Linked DNA regions of Homo sapiens: all the other regions are linked to region 3. The links are contacts of gene promoters, found by promoter capture Hi-C in blood cells and fetal thymus (Javierre and others, 2016). All regions are on one chromosome and are shown on one strand. Each heading gives the region's core, a stretch centred on a gene start or on the middle of the fragment in contact. The rest is flanking DNA. Distances are from core to core; before and after follow the strand shown.

Evidence for each region. Contacts are between HindIII fragments. The CHiCAGO score rates a contact against its expected background, and 5 or more counts as called.
Region 1: a contact is called between a fragment that was not itself captured here and the fragment with the promoter of GHRH in region 3, in 1 of 17 cell types (M1 macrophages). The highest score is 5.0, in M1 macrophages.
Region 2: a contact is called between a fragment that was not itself captured here and the fragment with the promoter of GHRH in region 3, in 9 of 17 cell types (M2 macrophages, megakaryocytes, naive CD8 T cells and 6 more). The highest score is 6.4, in M2 macrophages.

What each region holds. Positions count from the first base shown.
Region 1 is chr20:37,482,565-37,487,101 of GRCh38, forward strand. No RefSeq gene overlaps it. Among named protein-coding and RNA genes, the nearest start is that of NNAT, 36 kb to the right of the region's middle. RefSeq lists an enhancer at 3,905-4,537. The HindIII fragment of the contact is 2,413 bases long and covers 959-3,371 here.
Region 2 is chr20:37,500,553-37,504,998 of GRCh38, forward strand. No RefSeq gene overlaps it. Among named protein-coding and RNA genes, the nearest start is that of NNAT, 18 kb to the right of the region's middle. The HindIII fragment of the contact is 1,903 bases long and covers 1,153-3,055 here.
Region 3 is chr20:37,259,124-37,263,353 of GRCh38, forward strand. GHRH (growth hormone releasing hormone) reads right to left here and starts at 2,691. Exons shown (of 5, transcript NM_021081.6): 1 at 2,620-2,691. The HindIII fragment of the contact is 7,318 bases long and covers 841-4,230 here.

The DNA.
Region 1 (4,537 bases), core at 915-3,414, 220 kb after region 3:
TTATATTGGTTAGATGGTGAGTATATTGTATTCATTATGTTATTCTTGTTCTCTTCTGCACTTTTGAAATATATTATCATATTTCTCTAACAGTCTAAGCAAAATAAATAAGGGAAAAATGAAATATATTATCATAAAAACAGCGATATCCAAATATGGCAGAAAATTTGGAGAGAAGTAAGTCATGAAGAACTAAAACATCTTGACAAGAATCCCAACATCCATTGTCAAGTTCTGTAAAAATGCGCCGGAAAAGCACATCTCTTCTTAGCCTTTTTAATGCATTTATTTACAATAGATGCTTTCATTGTATGTAATTTTGCACCATCCTTTTCCATTGATTATATGCTAAACATCTCCCCATATTAGTCAACTTCCTTTGTAATTATTATGTTTAATGGCTGCCTAATAATCCAGTTAATGAATGGAACATAATTTGGTTAACTGTTCTCCTGGAGCTGAAGATTTTGATAACTTCCTTTTTTCTTTTTTGCTATGACACCTAAAGCCACAGTGCACATCTTTCTGCAGAAATCTTTGGGCATTGCTTTAGAGCACTTCTTGGGATGAGCTTCCTGCAAATGGAATTACTGAGTCAAACAGTACGAACCTTTTTGAGGCTCTTCACACATCTTAAACAAATTGCCTTGTAGAAAGATTTTGCCACTTCACAGTCCTGCCAGCTGTGCAAGAGAGGGCCCATGCCACCGGGGCTGAATGAGCTCTGTGAGCTCTTGCTTTGTAAAGTACTCATTCGATGGGCCAAAAGTGGTATCCCTGCATTCAAATTTACATTTATTTTATTATGAGTAAGTTCAACATTTTCAACTGAATTTGACTTTTGAACTTCATCTTTCATAAATGGGCTCTTACAGCCTTTTATCACCCCAATGTTTCATTATGAAAATTCTTACTGCCTCTGTGAATGTTTTATTTATGAGAATTTCCAACACACAGAAGCTTTACATTTCCTATAGTCAATTATATTTATATTTTCCAGCACAGTTCTCTGTATTGCTGTAAATGCTACAATGGCCTTCCTCGACCATAGTTTGGATAATGAATCATTTCCAGTTTTTTCTAGTTATTACTATGCTTTCTTTTTTTTTTTTTTTTTTTTGCATTTAAATCATCTGACATGGCCGGACATGGTGGCTCATGCCCATAATCCCAGCACTTTGGGAGGCTGAGGTAGGCGGATCACCTGAAGTCAGGAGTTCAAGACCAGCCGGGCCAACATGGCGAAACCCTGTCTCTACTAAAAATACAAAAAAATTAGCCGGGTATGGTGGCGGGTGCTTGTAATCCCAGCTACTTGGGAGGCTGAGGCAGGAGAACCACTTGAACCCAGGAGGCAGGGGTTACAGTGAGCCAAGATCATGCCATTGCACTCCAGCCTGGGCAACAAGAGTGAAGCTCTGTCTAAAAAAAAAAAAAAAAAAAAAATCACCTGACACTTACTGAAAAGATGACATCAATTAAAAAGTAAAGAAGACAAAAAAAAAATTGAAAAAAATTTAAATAAATCACAGGACATTGATGTTGGTGGTTGGTATAAAGAGAGATAAATAATTGCTTTTCGTTTCTGAAATAGATAAAATAATTTTCCAGCCTCACTAAGTGACAAATCACTTCATTCCCCCTGCCTGCCCCCATTCATTTGCAGTGCCTCTGCTCTCATAAGTCATAGAATTAGACATTCTAGGGATCTGCATCTGGGCTTTCTATTCTGTTTCATTGAGATGTCTTTCTTTCTGTTACAAAATAATGGTTATTTTGTTTTGTTTTATTCTGCAATGTCTGTTAGGGTTAGAACCCTTGAAATCTCTGTTTCATATCAGATCACTTCCCCAAGCATCTAACTCCCACACCCAATTTCCCTTTTGGTAATCTAACCTTGAATTTCCCATAGCATGACTTTTTTACACAATACATGTTTTTCTAGCTACCTCCTCTCCCTGGAGATCACATGGTATTGTTGTGCTCCATAGGGGCAGGCCAGTGGTGCACTCAATCCTGAAATCTTGGAGGCACGGTCAGGAGATATGGCTTTGAGCCACATCCCTGCCAGTCATGCACTGTGTTGGGCCCTCCCCACGCTACTTTGTCTTGGGACATCTCAGCTTCCTTTTCTGTGAAATGGGGTTGTCAAGACCACGTGAGATAGAGAATGTCAATACAGCCTTATTCTTCACTCAACAAATGTGTGCTAGGTGCCAGGGATAAAAGAGCAGCCAGGGTAGAAATTGTCTCTGAAGAAACAGCCTTCAAGGAGCTTACAGTCTATTAGGGGAGAGTCCTCTAAAACAGAGGAAAAGGCAGTTGCCAAAGAAGTGATTGCAAAGGCTGTGGAGGAAGCAAACAGAATGTGAGGGAGAGCATGGGGTAGGAGCCCCACTTTAGATGGGTGGTTGGGGAGGGTCTCTCTTGGGAAACATTTAAGCTGAGCCCAAAAGTCTGAGAAGAGGGTGGTGGGAAAGTGGTTTCCAGGTATGAGGAGCAATGGGAGCCAAAGCTCTAAGAGAGGAATGAGCTTGGTGCACTGGAGGACTAGAAGAATTTGCTTATGGGTCGGGTGCGGTGGCTCATGCCTGTAATCCCAGCACTTTGGGAGGCTGAGGCGGCCGGATCACCTGAGGTCAGGAGTTCGAGACCAGTCTGACCAACACGGTCAAACCCCATCTCTACTAAAAATACAAAAATTAGCTGGGTGTGGTGGCACACGCCCGTAATTCCAGCTACTCAGGAGGCTGAGGCAGGAGAATCGCTTGAACCTGGGAGGCAGAAGTTTCAGTGAGCCAAGATCGCAGTACTGCATGCCAGCCTGGGCGACAGAGCAAGACTCCGTCTCAAAAACAAAACAAAACAAAACAAAACAAAACAAAAAAAGGCTACTCTGGCTGCTCTGTGGGGGTTGGATTATTGGGAAGAAAGTTAGCAAGTACCTGCAGTGACCAAGCAAGAGATGACGGCTTGGACTGAGCCATTGGTCATGATGATGGAGTTGGTTAGGAGGTAAGATCAACTGACCTTTCCATGAGATGTTGCAAGAGAAGAAGGCAGAGATTCTAGGGGACCGCTAAGTGTCTCCCAAAATAGGAGACATCAGTCAAGAACAAATTTGCAGAAGAAAGATTAGGAATTTGAATTAAAGAGCATAATGAAGTGAAAAAATAACAAACCAAGAATTTCATTTGGGATATGTTGTTGATGTCTGAGATGGTTGGCCATCAGGTTCTGGAGCTCAGACGAGAGATCAGGGCTGGATCTGGAAGAAGATGTAGAGAGGAAGATGGGTGTGTTGGACTGGAGCTTAAAGGAGCCCAGTGTGGACTATCAGTTTTGGGAATCAGCCTCTAGGAGAGAGGCAAAGCTTCAAGGATGCATGAAGTTGAGGGAAAAGGTGCACAGTGAGAGGGAAGGCTGGAGTCTGAGCCCTGGGCAGCACCAGCATTGGACAGGGGGAGGGGAGCCTGAGAAAGAGGGGAAGACAGGGAAAGAGAGTCCCAGAAGCCCATGAAGGAACATTTCCAGAAAGAGAGTGGCCACTGGTGGGCCACATGCACAGAGGTCAGTGGAGGCTCAGGCATCTCCTAGACCTGGCCTTTGGGGACTTTTGTCACAGCAACTTTGGGGCAAGGGGCAGAAGCCCCTGTTGGTGTTGGGGGAATGAACTGGGTCTGGCTGAGAAAGGAGGGAGGAGGGTTGGAGCAGGCAGCAGGTCCAGGAAGGAGCTGATTCTTCCAGGAGACATGGGAGGGAGGAAGCAGTACAAGCCCAGTTGGAAGAGCAGGGCAGGGCAGTGAGAGGGGCCCTGGAGCTCTGGGATTAAGTGTAGAGGTGAAGGGATTAGCAGTGTTGGTGAAAAGGGACAAAAGTAAATTATGTACATTTTAGCAAGTAACCTGATCTCCATGTTCTTTGGGAGGCCTTTTCTCTGCCCTCTGGGTACTGACTCCAGCTCTAGTTACCACTGGTTTCATCTGCCTCATGGCTGGGGCAATGTCTTTCTCATTTTCTTGTACCTTTCAGCACCTAGCGACAGGCAGCCAGCTAGGTAGGAGCAGAATAATTATTTTCTGCTTGAAACCCAGTGTCTGAAATGGAGATTCAGAAGTTTTTCTTTGTACCAAAAATACTTTGTGACAACCCTGAGGAAGTGAGATGACAGGGAAGGAGGTGTTGGGGTACATGGGGATGGAAGGGCTGGAGGGCTGGAAATGTCACCAGGTTAATTTCATGGCTGGGCACCGGGAGATGTGATTGGCAGGGGAGGAAGGGCTAGGACTACTCACCCCACACAGGCCTATCTCTTCACAGCCGATGTGACGCTGCCCAGTGGCCTGGCCTCCCTCAACCTGTTCACTGCTGCTATTCTTTCCAATAAACTCCATTGCCCAATCCAACAGACTTTTCCGTCTTTAACTCACTTGGCCTGGCGGGAGCATCTGACATAGCCAACCACTCCCTCATAAGAGTGGCTCTCCTTGGCTTCCATGACACCAACATCTCCCAGTTAACCTCCTGCCCCAGTGGC
Region 2 (4,446 bases), core at 854-3,353, 240 kb after region 3:
AGAGTCCCGTAAGGTGCCCTGAGCTCAGGAGCAGCACCTCCAGTGTGTACACCACCACATCTATGCAAGCAAACAAAAGCAACAATAGAACACAGGACATGTTTCAATGCGCATAGGAGAACATTTTGGATCAACAGCAAATGCCTAACAGCAGCTGCCTCTAAAGTGGGGAAGGGGCCTGAGGTCAGGCTGGGGAGGCCAGTAGAGACTTCTTTACCTAAAATGCTCTAATTTTATTTAAAGGAAAATGTATTCATGTATTACTTGTATAATTAAAATTTAATTCAAAAATTCTAATTCATTTTCAGCCAATTAGCTCTGATTTACATGTGTGCTGTGTTTTCATTTGTGTGCCCAGGGACAAAGCACATTTGCTGTGTGTGTGTCTGTGAATGAAGCATAGTGATTAGTAAACTGATTAAAATTTGGAAAGCAAAATGAAAAAAGGGAAAGTTTTTCCACTCACAAAAGCAACAAAACTAATAAGGTTTTCAGGAATAAACCTATTAAGAACTGTGAAAAATCTTTATGACAAAAGCAACCAACCTTTATTAAAAGGCATTAAAAACAAAACAAAACAAAACAAATACAATTCTGATTAAAAAGAGACAGACACCATGTCCACAGATGGGAAGAACTTATATTCTAAAGATGTTAATTTCCCCTTCAATGCAATTCTTCTCAAACTTCCAACAGACATTTTGTTCACAGAACTTTGACAAGCTGATTATAAAATGTACCTGAAAAAGTAAATGTGCAATATGACCAAGACAATTTTAAAAAAGAATAAGGGGCTGCGCACGGTGGCTCATGCCTATAATCCCAGCACCTTGGGAGGCCGAGATGGGTGGATCACTTGAGGTCAGGAGTTTGAGACTAGCCTGGCCAACATGGTGAAACCCTATCTGCACCAAAAAATACAAAAATTAGCCGGGCATGGTGGCGCGTGCCTGTAGTCCCAGCTACTCAGGAGGCTGAGGCAGGAGAATCACTTGAACCTGGGAGGCGGAGGTTGCAGTGAGCGGAGACTGCACCACTGAACCCCAGCCTGGGCGGCAGAGCAAGACTCCGTCTCAAAAAGAAAAAAAAGGAATAAAGGCCTTGGGGGAAGGGTGGAGTGCTTATCTTATCAAGCCATAAGACACTTTATTAAGCTTTGCTCATTAATATGTACTATTGGCTCAGAAATAGACAAATAGATCAACAGAACCGGAGTCTAGACAGGGAATTGAGAGAAAAGATGGTGTTGGAACAATAAATGGTGCTTAGCAAACTGGATATCTGCAAAAAGAGCAAATTAGAGCTCTGTGTCACACCATACATGAAAACACATCTCAGATGGGTTAAAGATTTAAACATTTCAAACAACTATAGACGTTTTAGATGCAAACACACAATGTATATACACTGCGGTGGGGACCTGCTTTCATCAGCAGTGCGGCAGGACACTTAAGCATCCAGTAGGGTTCCAGGCCGACCTCACCTCCCACCTTTGGAAAGGGCCTGCCGAGCATCTCCATCTGGACCTCACAGACTCCTCTTCCTCCTTCTCTCCAGCTCCACCTGGTCCTGGGAAGAGGGACTGCCACACCGGATGGACTGAGGTCTGAAGCCAGCTCCTGCCACTTGTGCTCTGTGTCAATAAGGCATCTCCCTCTCTGGCTTCCAGTTCCTCCTCTATGAGTAGGTAATGGGGTTACGCTCCATTTCTTGTGGGGAAATGTGAAGCTCGTATGAGATGATCAATGTGAGCATGGATAAATGGCATGGAGCTTACAAGGATGAGGGGAGCAGATACCTCTACTTTGTCTTGATCCACTCCCCATAACCCCTGCTACGCAAGACTTAACATCCAATTCTTCTTCCTTGCATTGTAACTTCTGGATAATTGTCGTAGAATCTTTTTGGTCAAAAGAAGTTTGAGTGTTGACTTCTGACATTTGATTCCAAGGCAGAAAATACTGATTCGGCACCCAAGGAGCTTACTACCTGTTGCTAGGTGCTGAGAAACACACAAAATAATAAGACATAATCCCAGCCAAAAGACAGGATAAAACTGGTGCTAATTAGAACTATAGTCGGTACACAGGTCAGATAAAAGCTCCCAAAAGAACATGGAGATCAAGTTACTCTCTAAAAGGTACATAATTTAATTTTGCCCCATTCAGTCAAATACACATTATTGCCCCAAACTAATTTATCCACCTCCATAGTTGATCCCAGCCCCTTTGGGAGCTCATCTCACTAATTGTCTCCATCCCTAATCGCTCAATTACTCAGGCTCCTTATCCTCAGAATGTTCATCTGCCAGCATTTCTCTCTCTTTTAAGATTAAAAGTCCTGGATCTTGCTGCTTCTTTCCTTAATCGACTCCCACCCAAACTGCTCTGGCAGAGATTCTCAGAGGTCCCCCAATGGCCCCTTGGGGTGCTCATCAGCAGGGCCACCATGCTACCCAATTCCAGAGGCACCATGGAGGTTGTGCAGGTGCACACTGGAGTAGTTCAGGGATTGCCCTGGTCCTCCTGACCTCTCTGCACACACCCACTGCTGACCACCCTGTCTTTCTGCTGAGACACCTCCCGGCTCTTTCTTTTCAGTGCTCTCAGAGGATTCTTCTTCTCTTTTCTAATCTCCAAATGTTGGTGCTCCTTGGGCTTGATTTTTTTGTCCTCAGCCATCCCCTCGCCTAAAAATGCCCCAGAAGCCTGTCAACATCTGGATCCATATTTCCATTTGGGAGCCCCCTGGAGCCCTGGACTGGTCTCCATAATTTCTCACCTTGTGCTCTGGAGCTGTGCCTTCAGCTGTTTCTTCTCCATCTGCATTGGGATGTCTCAGCTTTTACCACTGGACTTGGGGTCTACCTTACAGACCTGGCCCCTTTCCAGGGCTCCCCAGCTCTGAAAATGGCATTGCCATCTCACCAGTAAGGCAAACCAGAAGCTCAGGGGTCATCCTGAACGCTGCCCTCTTCCAGCCCCTCTTCATTCCATCCAGCACCAAGACTAACCAGAATATGCAGATCATGTCCAAATCCTGTCCACTACAACAAAGCTTCCGAACTAGCCTCCCTGTCTACCCATGCTGCTCTAATGATTTCTCCACAGAACAGCCAGAGTCCCAGGCAGATTACAGCAACATACCAGGGCAGGTCACATCCCCTGCTTCCCTCGCTCTCAGGATGTTGGCAGGAGCTCAGCCCTGGTCTCCAATGCTCTGTATAGCCAGAACTGCTTGTCTCTCTGGTCTCACCTCTCCTTCCTCTCTAGTCAGGCCCTTTGCTCAGAATGCTTTCCAATTTGCTTTGTGGTCAACTTTGTTCTCTTCTTTCTATCTTGGTTTGGAGGATCACCTCCTCAGGGAAGCCTCCCAGAGTCAGATGAGGGCAGGTCCCCTGGTGGCACACCCTTCAGTACTCAGTACCATTCCTTCAGAGTGCCTATCAGTGTTGGAAATTGTACATTTACATATGTGATTATCTGACTATGTCTTTCTCCCCTACCACCATGAGAACAGGGATTCTGACTATTTTAATTCATTCACCCAAGTATCCACAGTGCTAGGCACACTGCTGGGCTGGGCACACAATTAGGTGCTAAAAGAGAATTATGTGGAATGTATCAACTTTCGTATTAAACAATGGATGCTTAACACTTTGGGAGCTGAGCCTATACACCTGCTCATCTTTCCTAGCCTCAGCCTCCCAGCCCCTACCCTTCACATCTCCAAATCTCCCTTCTGGACTCCTTAGAGGACTCCTAGTGACAGATCCATGTCCTCTCACATCTCACCATTATTCCAGCCTAGGCCATCACTCCCTCAACATGCTCTTATTAAGGCCATCAAAACTTACTAATTATGAAATCCAAAGGAAAAATTCTCTATCTTATTGGAATTCTCTGCTGCATTTGACAGTGTTGATTACTTTCTCCTTGAAACTCTTCCCTAACTTGGTTGTCATGGCAACCCCCTCTCCTGGTTGTTTGTCGCATCTCTCAGGCCCTTCCTTTTATTTCTCCTTTTTTGCCTGCCCACACCTGGCTCCTCAAATGTCACTATGACTCATGATTCTGACCTGAGCCCTCTCCCATTTTTTCTCTACACACTCTCCCTGGTAATCTCACTTATGCTTAGGGTCCCCATTACTCTGAGTGGTGACAGCCCTGGGCTAGTGCTTCCAGCTAAATCTCTTCCTGAGCCCTGGACACCAGGATCTAAGTGTCTGCTGGGCCCCACTTGGCTGTGTCTGAGTCCACTATCCTGTCCCTCAAACTGGCTCTCCATGCTGTGTTCCCCACCCCAGGGGCCTCCCCACCATCCACCCAGGACTCCACTCAAGATACACGGGACTGGGCATGGTGGCTCATGCCTGTAATTGCAGCACTTTGGGAGGTCAAAGTGGGAAGATTGCTTGAGCCCTGGAGATGGAGATCAGCCTGGGCA
Region 3 (4,230 bases), core at 1,441-3,940:
TGTTCCGGTAAGGACTGGGGCTAGAGAAAAGATGAGAACACGGGATCTACCCCGAGGGCTGGCTGTGTAACATCCGCCTGCTGGGCTGGAGCCTCTGCACCTACAGCCACACGACTGGTCCTTTAGATATGTTCCGCATGTCTGACTTAAGCTTTTGTTCCTCAGACCAAGGCTCGGCAGGCTTCCGTCCTCCTCATCGCACCATACCACGTCTGGTCCCCCTTCTCCCCACCTGGTCCAGGCTGCCTCTCCAGAAGTGGAATTTCCTAAGCCGAGAGATCTCTGGATGCAAGCAGGGCCCCTTGACAGAAACCACTGCCTTTTCTGTCTCCCAGCTGCAGCCTGGCTTTCTTGCCTTCTTTGCTGCTGATCTTTTAAAGATTCAGGCAGATCTAGGTCCCCAATCACCTCCCTCCCCTGCTCAGAAGCCCTTGGCTCCCCACTCCTTCCAGAATAAAGCTCAAACCCCTTCTCTTGGCTTAAGCTCTCCCTCTGCCTGCCCCTTCTCCCAAGGGCTGGCACAAGTGATTCCCAGCCCCTGTGCCCTATCAGGCTCCACAACCCATCCTTGCACTCTCCCTCTGGAGCAGGCATCCCCATGCTCCTCTTACAGCCAAGGAAAAGAGCCTAGAGAGGACAAGGACATTTTCCATGATCCTCCATCAAATTAGTTTTGGAGTGGGCACTTCAGAGTGGGCCTCCTCATTCCCAGGCCGGCAGACTTCCTTCCGCTCCATGCAGCAGCCTCCCAGGTACAATGCTCTATTCACAGTATTCCCCATTCACAGGGATCCTCAGCCTCCATCACCTGCACGTGGGAAAGGGTCTGAAAAAAAGGAAAGCTTCTTGCTCTTTGTTGTTGGGCCTCTGGGGAAGAAAGAACAGGGACAAACAGGAACACCTGCTTGATTGGCCCCTCCCTATGCACACCCAGTAGTTTCAGGGAGTTGAAACAACCTCATAGGAGGGCAGACTTTGGTGGGGAGGGCAAGTCATAGTAAACACAATACCCCGCTCATTCAAGATAAGGCTCAGCAACTGCACAAGTTAACCAAGAGGCTCAACATTTGCCACAAATCCTGTGCCCCAGGCATAGGTCAAGACCCCACAGCAACCTCTGAGCTATGAGAACCGAATCCATGGGTTTGCAGATCCCACTGGATGAAAATGGGAAACAAGAATTATCCAGTGTAGGGTAAGATAAGAAGAATAGAGGTTATGTCACTAAGGATAAAATAGCTCCAGCCTGAGCAACATGGCGAGACCCCATCTCTACAAAAAAAAAAACACACAAAACAAAACAAAAAAAAACTTATCTAGGCATGGTGGCGCATGCCTGTAGTCCCAGCTACTCTGGAGGCTGATGTGGGAGGATTGCTTGAGCCCGGGAGGTTAAGGCTGCAGTGATCCATGATAGTGCCACTGCACAGTAGCCTAAATGTCAGAGCAAGACCCCATCTCAAAGAATAAAATAAAATAGCTGTCAACAGACACATTCCACATGACAACTTAAGGAGTCAAAATTCACTGAATGAAGTGTAGCCGAGCCCAACAGCATTGCTGGCAACCCTGATGACTGAAGGCACTCCAGAGTTTATAATCTATCATTATGATCATCGGTTAGCTTCCTGCAGTGCTTACTGATTCTGGGATTAGATGTACTTGAGATTGCCTGGATTCAGGATAAACGGGCACTTGATCTACATCCGTTGGCACCTTTTGCCAGCTTTCATGCCAGGAATGCCAGGAGAATTCTGCAGATTCACCTGCAGCTGACAGAGGTCAGGTCTCAAGCACCCAAATTCGCAAGGCCATTTTTGAAAACCCAGGGAAAGAACATCTTTAACCTTCCTTGAATATCCCCCTTTGAAATTTGAGCACCCCAAAGCATAGACTTCCTGATCTGGTTTATAAACTGTTTCAGTGACAGCATTCCAAGTTAAAAGAAATCTAAGTTTTTAATGAGGAAGCATCTTGAACTGTCATTCAAAAGAGTGACACTCCACCTCCTTCCAGAAGGGGTTTGAGGCAGTCTATGGTGAAAGACACAAATACTTCAGGACCATTAAAGCAAGGATCAGGAGACAGGCGTGGGGTAGCGGAGGACTCCAAAGGCAGATAATTGTGTCTAAAACCTGGAGTAAAGAGTGTGGCTGCAATTGAGCAAGAAAGCAAAATGTTATCAATTTCCCGGCAATTACATTGAATCAGTTCTGAGTGATCAATGAGCAGTATTGATTTGCACAGCCACTTGGCTCATCTCTGATCCATGGCAGAATCCCATCGCTGACAGGAAAATCGAGCCAACTCACGTTTGCCCCCGAAGCCTGCCCACGCATCCTCGAAGGAGCACTGAGACCTCACCACCTGCGACAGACACCTGGAGCCAGTCCGCCACGCGCCCAAGTTAAGACAAGCCCCAAACAGCACCATCAAAAGCCTATTCCAGAGCCCCTATTGAGGGGTGATTTTATCCAGAGAGGGGCTCAAATGTACTCACCAGTCCATGGGCAAAGAGGATGGCGGTGGGCCTCTTGGACTCAGTGTTTCTAAGTTGGTGAGAAGGTTAACTTTTCTTACCCCCACCCAGCCTAGCCCCCCCAGGGCCACCCCTCTCACCTGATGCGGCAGATATCCCTCTGCTCCGAGGCACTGCTCAAATCCAGGGGCCCTGGGCTGGGTGTTTGCTCTGGCAGCCGCCTGGCGTTCCCATCATTTATCTCTTCATTTTCCTAAGCGTTGTCAGCGTCAGAGAATCAATTACCCACAAGTCAACCAAAGGACTGTTTTTAGCATCATATCACACTGACAAACCCTGTTGGTGAAAGAGGTTTGGCCCCTTGCAGACTTAGACTCCTGGTAAAGTCTCCTTTTATCTTTGGCACAGTGGACATAGTACAAAGGTGTAACATTATTCCAAGAGGATATAGAGAATATATACTGCTATAATAGTGATTGGAGAACTCGGCTGGGCGCGGTGGCTCACACCTGCCATCCTAGCACTTTGGGAGGCTGAGGCGGGTGGATTGCCTGAGCTCAGAAGTTTGAGACCAACCTGGGCAACATAATGAGACCCTGTCTCTAGAAAAAAATTAAAAATTAGCTGGGCATGTTGGCACATGGGTATAGTCCCAGCTACTCAGGTGGCTGAGGCAAGAGTGTCACCTGAGCCTGGGAGGCGGAGGTTGCAGTGAGCCAAGACCACGCTATGGCACTCCAGCCTGGGTGACAGAGCACGACTCTATCTCAAAATATATATTTTTTAAAAAAAGAAAAAATATGTGTTAAAAATAATTGGAGAACTCATAACAGTGAAACACCAAGAGTTTATTGATTCTCCAAGATAAATGTGCCTTTTCAAAAGTTCATATAATTTAGCTTTGTCCCTGTGTAATTTTATTTCACTTTTGGGTAGACAACATTATGAATAAGCGTTATTCTCTCCTTAGTGGGGAATTTGTTCCCTATCTCCCTTGTCGTCCAATTATCAGAATTCTGCACTATTTGATTTACACCTGCTTGGTCACAGGCTGATTTCAACAGCTAGCCTGGGGGCATCCGTCGTCACCTGTCAAGGCAGCCAGACATTGGCAGTTGCCTCAGAGAAGTGTGAAATGAGAGGGAAGAGATGGAAAACCTTGGGAGAGTTGTTGTGTTTCCAGATTTCTCTAGCCTATAGCTAAGAAATCCTCAGGAATGACATAAAAGCACAGGAGGCAGAAGCTCTGGTTTCCCAGGCGGCCGTCGTGGAGGTGTGGAAAGAGCTCCAAGCCTCGAGTCTAGGGACCTGCTGCCTCTCCCAAGCCTGTCAATCATGACCTCTGTGACCCTTAGGAAGTTACTTCTACCTGGCTGGGTGCAGTGGCTCACACCTGTAATCCCAGCACTTTGGGAGGCTGAGGCGGGTGGATCATGAGGTCAGGGGTTCGAGACCAGCCTGACCAACATGGTGAAACCCCGTCTCTACTAAAAATACAAAAATTAGCTGGGTGTGGTAGTGGGCACCTGTAATCCCAGCTACTCAGGAGGCTGAGGCAGGAGAATTGCTTGAACCCGGGAGGTGGAGGTTGCAGTGAGCCGAGATCGTGCCACTGCACTCCAGCCTGGGCGACAGAGCGAGACTCTGTCTCAAAAAAAGAAAAAAAACTTCTACCCTCCGGGCCTCAGTTTCTACCTGGAAACTTGAGAGTTGACATAGAACAGCAACTTTCAAACTATTTTTTTGAGAGG